2 separate regions of the Homo sapiens genome follow, and region 1 is linked to region 2. The links are contacts of gene promoters, found by promoter capture Hi-C in blood cells and fetal thymus (Javierre and others, 2016). All regions are on one chromosome and are shown on one strand. Each heading gives the region's core, a stretch centred on a gene start or on the middle of the fragment in contact. The rest is flanking DNA. Distances are from core to core; before and after follow the strand shown.

Region 1 (4,644 bases), core at 884-3,383, 470 kb before region 2:
TTATAGTTCAAATAGAGGTTGAGTTATGTGGAGGAAAGTTGTGCTTTGGCTGAGAGGGTGAATTAGATAATTTCTAATTTTTTTTTTCCATTTTAATGATTCTATTACTCTGTGCCAAAAAATTATTTAGTGATCCACTTTGGAATGAACATCCTTTTATCTGCTTTGATCTTGGAGGTTCATTTACTGACCCACCTACCCATTCCTGCTCTCCTACTCAATTAAGATGGATTAAAACTAGAATAATTTCATTTGCAATGAAAGCTATTAGTCTGAGCAGATTGTCTCCATGATAATCTAATTGCATAGGTGCAAATGACTTTGCATAAATGAGCATTTGACAGACCGTTTCTTTTCTTTTTTTTCCCTGAGACAGAGTCTTGCTCTGTTGCCCAGGCTGGAGTACAGTGGTGCATTCTTGGCTCACTGCAACCTCTGCCTCCCGGGTTCAAACAATTCTCGTGCTTCAGCCTCCTGAATAGCTGGGATTATAGGCCTATGCCACCACGCCCAGCTAATTTTTCTATTTTTAGTAGAGATGGGGTTTTGTCATGTTGCGCAGGCTGGTCTCCAATTCCTGGCCTTAAGTGATCCATCTGCCTCAGCCTTTTCAAGTGTTGGGATTATAGGCATGAGCCACCGCGGCTGGCCTGACAGACCATTTCCTATCATTTTTTGTGCAGAGTATAAACAGTAGCATTTTAGATGAAACTTCAGTATTAGGTTTTTAACTTTGATTATATTCTTCTTAGCAAGGAAAGGGCAAGTTGTAATTTTACCTTCTAGAGAAATATAAGTAAGAAAGCACGGTCAGTAAAGTATCATTTATCTATTTAAAATAAGCATACTTCTTTATTTAGTTCAGTGACAAAATGATAGATGATATATATGTACATCAGGTACTGAGATAATAAAAAGCTCCAAGAAGCTGAAGTATTACATACTTAAGTAATGGTATTTCATGGGATTAAGCCCTTTCCAAAATTAACATCTCCTTTCATCTACATTTATTTCCAAGCTATCTCCTCTGATAGCTTACTGTATTTTTTTTTTTTTTTGAGACAAGGTCTTGCTCTGTTGTCCAGGTTGGAGTCCAATAGTGCAAATGACAGCTCTCTGCATCCTCAAGTTCCTAAGCTCAAGTAGTCCTCCCACTTCAGCCTTGGGAGTAGCTAGTACCTTAGGCGTGTGCCACCTTTTTTTGTTTTTGTTGTAGTTGTAGTGACAGGATCTTACCATGTTGCCCAGGCTGGTCTTAAACCTCTGGGCTCAAGTGATCCTCCTGCCTTGGCATCCCAAAGTGCTGGGATTACAGGCATGAGCTGCTGCACCCAGCCCTGTTTCTTATTATACCTAAATATTTAAAATAATTTACTTTTCTCATATTACATAAAGTAATTAAAGTATTTAATAAATCCTGAAAATTTCCCTTAGAAAGGCAAAAACCATTCATATTGAATAATGAAAACCTTAATTACTTATGAACACTATAACTCACTTATAAGTACTATTTTTAATGGAGCGCTGATCTTATGATTTATCATCCTTCAGGCTATTGCTAATGTTTATCTCTATGTAGAATTGCAAAACTGTGAAAGACCATAAAGAGCTGAGTGTAAACTCATTACCCCTGCTTCAAAAACCATTCATTTATTCAAAAGGTATTTGTGAGGTACCCACTTTGTGCTAGACACTGTGCTTGGTGATGGCCTGAATTGTGAACAAAGTGGACAAAGTTACTCTCATCATGAAGCTTGGGGGATAGATGATAAAAAGTTAACACATAAGTGAATAAATAATGGAATTCCAGGCATTGATAAGTGTTGTAAAAATAATGTAGGAAAGTGATAGGTCAAAGGTAATCTAATTTAGAGAAGTAGAAAGATCTTTAGACGAGGTCCCATTTCAGCAAAGACCTGAATTAGATGAGCTAAGGAAAAGTAAAAAGATCTGAGAGAGGGATGTGGTGGCCACATTCTGAGATGACACCAGTGGTCCTTGCCTCCTGGTATTTACATCCCTATGGAATTCCCTTCCACACTGCATCAGGATTAGTTTGTGTGACTGGCAGAATACAGTGGAAGTTGTGGTGTCCACATTCTGAGGTTAGGACATAAAGAACATTGCCATTTCCCCTTTGATCTCCTGGGACATTGTCTGGGGGAAGCGAGCTGCCAAATCATGAGGACACTCAAGCAATTCTATGGAGGTGATGGAACTGAGGCCTCCTGCCAACAGCCAGTACCAACTTGCCACCTGTGTGAGTGAGGCATCTTGGAGGCTCCCCAGTCAAGCCTTCAGATGATGGCTGCCCTGGGTGCATCTTTCTGCAACCTCATCAAAGATCCTAAGCCAGAGCACCCAGCTAATCCCCTCCCGAAATTCTGACCAAAGGGAACTTGGGGATAATAAAAGTTTATTTTTTAAATAATGAAGTTTTGGGATATGTTGTTATGCAGAAATACGTAACTAATAAAAGGAGAAATCTCAAGAGTAAAATATTTCAGAGAAGAACAAGCTTGGCATGTCTGAGGCATGACAAAAAAAGGCAGAGTGGCTGGATATTTGTTGGGAGGGTGAGAGTGGCTGGAGATTTCTATTCATGACCCGCTTTGTTAAATAATAGAGGATAACCAAAAGTTCATAAGTACTCAGCACATACTGTATGTTCACAGTTCTTTAATTTATCTTCTTGGCTTTTATAATTTATAGTAAATCGTGTATTTAAAAAAATCTTCATTAGAAATCTATGTACAGGATCGGATGAGGTGGCTCACGCCTGTAATCCTAGCACCTTGGGAGGCCAAGGCAGGCAGATCACTTGAGGTCAGGAGTTCAAGACCAGCTTGGCCAACATAGTGAAACCTTGTCTCTACTAAAAATTAAAAAATTAGCTGAGCAAGGTGGCGGGTGCCTGTAATCCCATCTATTGGGAAGGCTGAAGCAGAAGAAATGCTTGAACCCAGGAGGCGGAGATTGCAGTGAGCCAAGATTGTGCCACTGCGCTCCAGCCTGCGTGACAGAGTGAGACTCCGTCTCAAAAAAAGAAACCTATGTACAATGTAAAATATTGTATTTTAGCTGTGGTCAGGTTACTGAACTTTTCAGCAGACACGTAATACATTTTTTCTAAAACAGGATGCTTTGGATAGATTAGCCATCCTAAAGCATGACAAAGCAACTTAAATCCTCCAAGGATTAATATTATATTGAGTGAAAAATAGATATTTAAAAGAAGGCCATGTAGTAATATTTGGTTACCACTAATGATCAGACACAGATGGAGTCTTTGAGGATAAAATAAAAACACAGCAAATGATTTTTTTTTTTTTTTTTGAGATGGAGTTTCGTTCTTGTTGCCCAGGCTGGAGTGCAATGGCACGGTCTCGGCTCACCACAACCTCCGCCTCCCTGGTTCAAGCAATTCTCCTGCCTCAGCCTCCCGAGTAGCTGGGATTACAGGCACACACCACCATGGCTTGTATTTTTAGTAGAGATGGGGTTTCTCCATGTTGGCCAGGCTGGTCTCGAACTCCTGACCTCAGGTGATCTGCCCGCCTCAGCCTCCCAAAGTGCTGGGATTTATAGGTGTGAGCCACTGTGCCTGGCCTGATTTTTTATGAAAAAGGGAATCTTTGTGCTTTTTGATTCATAATTAAGCCAAATTTTCTTGTAGAAAATAGGTCATTGTTAAAATAGAGTTTTGGATCAAGCCAATGTCTGTGGGAGATAAGAATAATTAGAAAATTAATTTTCATATATTAGGGTTTTGTTTATATCTAATAATCCATCATTTATTACCCAGGGAGTAAAAACAACTCCTCAAAGCAGTATTTTTCCGGCTTTTCTTACATCTCTATGGGAACACTAATCCTGCTTTAAATGTTTCACAAAGAATCTTGGGCGTTTCCTCTAGAAGTTGTTGCTCAGGTTCTCCATGAATTAGCCCTTTGATTACCACCAGTTCCATTTTCCTACTCTGGCTCAGATGGAGATCCTCTTGTGAACCCAGTAAGCAGCTCTTTGCTGATGCTTGCTGATTGCTCCGCTGGTGATATTACTGATGATCCATGAAGCTTATTCCAAGGAATACAATGTTCAGAATTGAGACTGCTGATGTTTGCTCCAGGATTAATGAATAATATCAAATATCCTTGTTAAGATGCCACCTCTTCTGTTGAGAGCCACCAATGTCTCCACCAAGTTTGCTATCCGATGTCAAGAATCCTATGTTTGTACAGAAGGCGTTATCTCTTGTTGCTGTTGCAGTCCCAGCATCCAATGTAGCTAGAACCTTTTATTACTGATGTCTAGATGGAAATTTAGTGAAAAGTGTCTTTTGAGCATTTCTAGATTTGTAATTACAATTACCTCAATCTAGTAGTCAGTCATAGGTCCATGGAAAGCTGGCCTGGATGATAATTTGAGTGATCAACTCATCAACACTCAGAATCATTGTCTCTAAGCAAAATATTGTGCCTTGAGTCTCTTTTGTCTTATGAACAATTTTTTTGGAGGTGTCTCCAAAACCTCATATAAACAGACTCGTTGCTAATCTATCTTGCAGCTTTCTTTTATTCCTTATGTTGATAACAGGTAGTCAGACATCTTCAGCAAGATTGATCCCCCTTCTTTTGTACTTTT
Region 2 (4,384 bases), core at 1,386-3,885:
ATATGTCATACACAACTTAGTAGAATATCTTTCCTAGTAATAGCCAATAAATATGTGTGTTCCTATATTATAAATCGAATACCCCACTTGTATATATTATGTAGTCTATTTTGCCTCTTAAGGGGAGGAAAATATTCTTGCAATTGTTTTAGACTAATTTTTCTCACTTTTTATTCCCAAGGGGAAAAGTTCAAAAGGAATTCAGACTACAACTACTTCTTGCAGTGATTAGGAAAAACTGAGAACTATTTCTATAATTCATATACTATAGTTTATCTGAAGCTGATACAGTTGTGCATTTTGGACAGATTTCAGAGCTGGGATTTGGTTTCTAACTTCCACATATTTTCCTCATTACCAGCCAGTCTGAGACCCGGGAAACCACTATTTGGTGTGTGATCACAAAAGGGCAGGAAAGAGGAAAATCAGTAGTTTTATTTACAGCATCAACTGTTCAATTACCAAAGCACAATCTTCAAACTTAAATACTCTCATTTCGTCCAGTGTAGCCCCTTCTCTGAGTGTTACCTTTAGCAAGTGGGTCACTAAAGACGTTTCAGAAAAGCTTATCTAATATCACCACAGAGGACTCTGAGGTCACACTATTCTGGTCTTTACCTCATACTTAGCAACGATACGCACGACACAGAATACAACATGCTCACACAGTGCCTTCCACTGAGTTTCATACACTCCTAGGAATTTAACACCTACTGAACGAATGGAAATGATTCTCAGTTGTGTTTATACACTGAGAAAATTTTAAAGTTTCCCTATCCAGGGTCCAAGCAGCGGCATATCTTCAAGCTCTGCCAAGTGCAGACAGAGCCCCCTTGGCTCACGTTGCCGTGGATCAGAGAATACCAAACCCTGCAGCTACCCATGTGAACGATGGAATGTAAAAGCTAAACTAAACCCATTCCCACTCCCCGCTTGGCTTTGACGCAGGGGTGGTGGTGGAGAGGATTCACTAAGTGTGCCCCGCTTTGCTCCCTCCCAGCACGCAGGGCTCCATGTTGTCCTGAGCTTGGCTGTCCAGCTCTTGTTGCCCTGACTACCTTCAACTCTTAAAATCCCGCCAGGAGATCAAAATGACAGGAAAAGCAAAGGGAAAGAACCTAGAGAAGGAATGGCAACCTTCCAGTCGAAAATCCCCAAAGCAGTGTTTTTTGACTCCTAGTGCAACAAGTGACCCTCTCAAGCGGCTCTTGAAACCACGCAGCCCGCAACTCGGGGATCCACCTCGCGTGCGCCCGAGGAGCACAGCAGGCTGGACACACCAACCTTTTCCCCAACCGTGACCCAAACAGTGGCTTGGATTCGATCCTTTCCACCCCCAAGCCTTGAGGAAAATCCACTTGAGACTTTTTTCCATCTCCAGATTTCCGACGGTCGATATCCTCCTGCATCCAGCCCATTTCCTAGTTTCCTGAAGGGTAGGGAGGACGTCTGTGAGTTGGATGTCTGAGAGCGTGCGTGTGCTAGGGATTTTAAACGTCTCCCCTCTCTTCCACTTCTTCGATATGTGCTCTGAGCTTTAGGTGTCGCCTCACAAATGGGATCAATAATCCTTGTTTTACCAACTTTGTCATGAAACCCTAGAAAATCATATATATTAAAAGGGCTTTAGAAATTGTCAGGTGCCCGACAGGTTGCAGCCGCGGGTTACCTCGGAGGCCAAGGCAGCCACCTCTGCAAGGGAGTTCTGCGTCCAAGCATGGCTTGTCCGTCCCGCCTGGCCCCCATCAACAAGGCCGGGACCAGCGGCCGGTGGAACGAGCGAGAGCAGCCCTAGTCCCACAGGTGAGCCGCCCCCACAAGCAGCCAAGCCGCGAGCCGTCCCGGCGCCGTCACCGCCCGCACTCACTTCTCCACTCCGGGAGGGAGATGGGAGGCGTGGGAGAACGCGGAGAGGCGCGGCGAGGCTGGGAGCGGGAGACGGCGCCGGGAGGCGGGAAGCGGACCAGAGAATGGGAGAAGCCCGGCAGGTGGACAGGAGGAAACAAAACCCAAACGCCCCACCCTCGAAGTCGTCAGGAGCTGAGCGAAGGAAGGAGCGAGGTAGGAAAGCGTGGCGCCCCAAATATGCCGCGGGAGCGGCGCGGGAGGCGCAGAACCCCGGAGCTTGCAGCCTAGCGCGCGGGGTCCCAGCGGAGCGCGAGGACGCGAGCGGAGCCCTCCCGGTTACCTGTGCTGCTTCCGCCCTGGCTGCCCCTGTCCCGAGGGAAGATGCCCGAGCACTTCTCCCACTCCACCTGGCCGGCGAAGCACAGCTCGGTGACGATGTGCAGAGCCTTCTGGCACAGACTGTTCACTCCGTCCTCCTTGTGGAAACTCATCGTTTGGCTTTTCTTTCGTTTTCTCTTTTTTTCCCAGTTAGCCGTCTTTTCCTCTTCCCGTACCTCTAACCCCTCTGGCGCCCTAAGCCATAGTCCGCCCGCGGTGACTTTGGCTGGAGATTGCGCCGCTGAGAGCCGGCAACTCTTAGGAGCCCCACGTTGGCCCCATGGCGGGAGCGGAGGGCGTAGGGGAAGGAGAGGCGCGCGAGGAGGCTGCGGCTGCCGCGAGGTTTGCGCCAACTCTCCCGCCGCGCGAGCGAGCCGAGGCGCGCTGGAACTAGAGACCCGGCATGGAGTGCTGAGGGGAGGGGGGAGCCGTAAAAAAGCCAAAGCAAGCCCTCGACTCGCAAGCACGCCCCCCTCCTCTCCCCAGCGCACTGGTGTTTCTGGCGGGTGCCTGGCGGCGACGCGTCCAATCGCAGCCCGGCGCGGGCGCTAGGTGACAGGCGGCGGAGCGCGCAGACCCGGCTCCCCGCGTCCTCTGAAGAAGGGACTCGCGAGGGAGGGAGGGAGGGAGGGCGGGCGGCCCGGCGCCCCTGCCGAGGCCGGGGATGCTCATCGTTGCCCAGAGTTGGCCCGAGGAGCCCTCTCCGTTTTCCCAATACTTTTCCCTGCATCAGTGCAGCCATCCCCGCCGCCTTTGTCTCTCCAACTTTTCCACGGATGTATTCTACTTTCTGTGCTATCTGCTTCTGCCCTTCTGGAAAAGTCATCCCAATCGAAGAAAAACTGAAAAAGTTAATTAGAAAAAAGAATGCGTGAATAAGCAAACCCTCTTAGGTAGATCACAAAATAAAATGTTATTTGTACTAATAATCAGATAAGATTCTGTCGATTAATCCGTAATTGGCGATTGAGAATGCACAACTTGACTCCCTCCATCTCCTTTCTTAGCGACTTAAAACAAGACATGGGTGTTAAAGGGAACAGGATTAAGTTCAAATCTGTCACACATCTCAGCCTAACCTTGAAGTTGTTTTCAGGTCTTGGCGATCCTCCTACTTCAGCCTCCCTAGTAGCTAGGACTCCAGGGACTCCAGGCGCTATTTTTTTTTTTTAAACTTATTGTAAAGACAAGGATCTCACTATGGTGCCCTGGCTGGTCTCGAACTCCTGGGCTCAATCAATCCTACCGCCTTAGCTTCCCAAAATGCTGGCACTAGCCACCACGGCCGGCCTGCTTTCGGGTCTTTGCCTGAGTCTGTAAAATGGGAGATTTGGACTCGGATGTCTTAAGCTCACCTGTTTTTATAATTCTTTAATGCAAATGGGTGCAAATCAGTAGAACTAAAGCGACAAAATAATAAACATGGGCTTCAGGATATAATATGTTTATATGGTTTTTAAACTGTTTTCGGGCAGAGTTTGATCCCATATCATAACCTGAGGATTGATTTAACCCTCTTGTGATGAGGGATTCTTTATTTTTGAAGTGGGATACATTGAACTTGTTAGCGTGTCTATGCTAGTAGAATAAGTAGTCTTTTTTAAAAACAGCTAATCAGTTCATGGTAAATTATTTGCTTTGCACAGGACTATGGTAAACCTAGTATAAATATTAGGCATAGCACTCCAGTAGGGAAGCATTCATTAGTTGAATCATTTTGACCTGATCCATAGGACGATTGGTTTAACTAGGACTATTTTTACCACGAATTAAGACAAACTAAAATCTGCAGGCTTCATTTGGTTTTTGTCTTTATGCACACTGACTTGGGTGGTTTTTAAGTCAAATTGTCTAAAGAAATAATTTCACTGTCAATCAAAAAATATTAAACATCTACTGTATGCACAAAACTAAATAACACACTTTAATAAGGCCCTTTCCAATTGCCTTTTGCCCCCCATTCTGCTACAGTCTACACAGACAGACCGGTAGAAAACAGCCTGCAATGCAATGCTGTACTTTCATATTTACCATATGAACTAATTGCTGTGTAGGAGGACCAAATGAGTAATTATCTTTATACTACTTACAGATTCTAATTGCTTAAGTGGAGTAATGCAGAAGGTCTCCCTAATGACCCTCTTGTGTTTGATTTCAG

Evidence for each region. Contacts are between HindIII fragments. The CHiCAGO score rates a contact against its expected background, and 5 or more counts as called.
Region 1: a fragment that was not itself captured here is called in contact with the fragment with the promoter of SYT10 in region 2 in 1 of 17 cell types (endothelial precursors); the score reaches 6.4 in endothelial precursors.

Annotation. Positions count from the first base shown.
Region 1 is chr12:32,971,388-32,976,031 of GRCh38, forward strand. No RefSeq gene overlaps it. Among named protein-coding and RNA genes, the nearest start is that of PKP2, 77 kb to the left of the region's middle. The HindIII fragment of the contact is 765 bases long and covers 1,752-2,516 here.
Region 2 is chr12:33,437,184-33,441,567 of GRCh38, forward strand. SYT10 (synaptotagmin 10) reads right to left here and starts at 2,636. Exons shown (of 7, transcript NM_198992.4): 1 at 2,189-2,636. The coding sequence starts at 2,339. RefSeq lists an enhancer at 1,547-2,363. The HindIII fragment of the contact is 7,804 bases long and covers 564-4,384 here.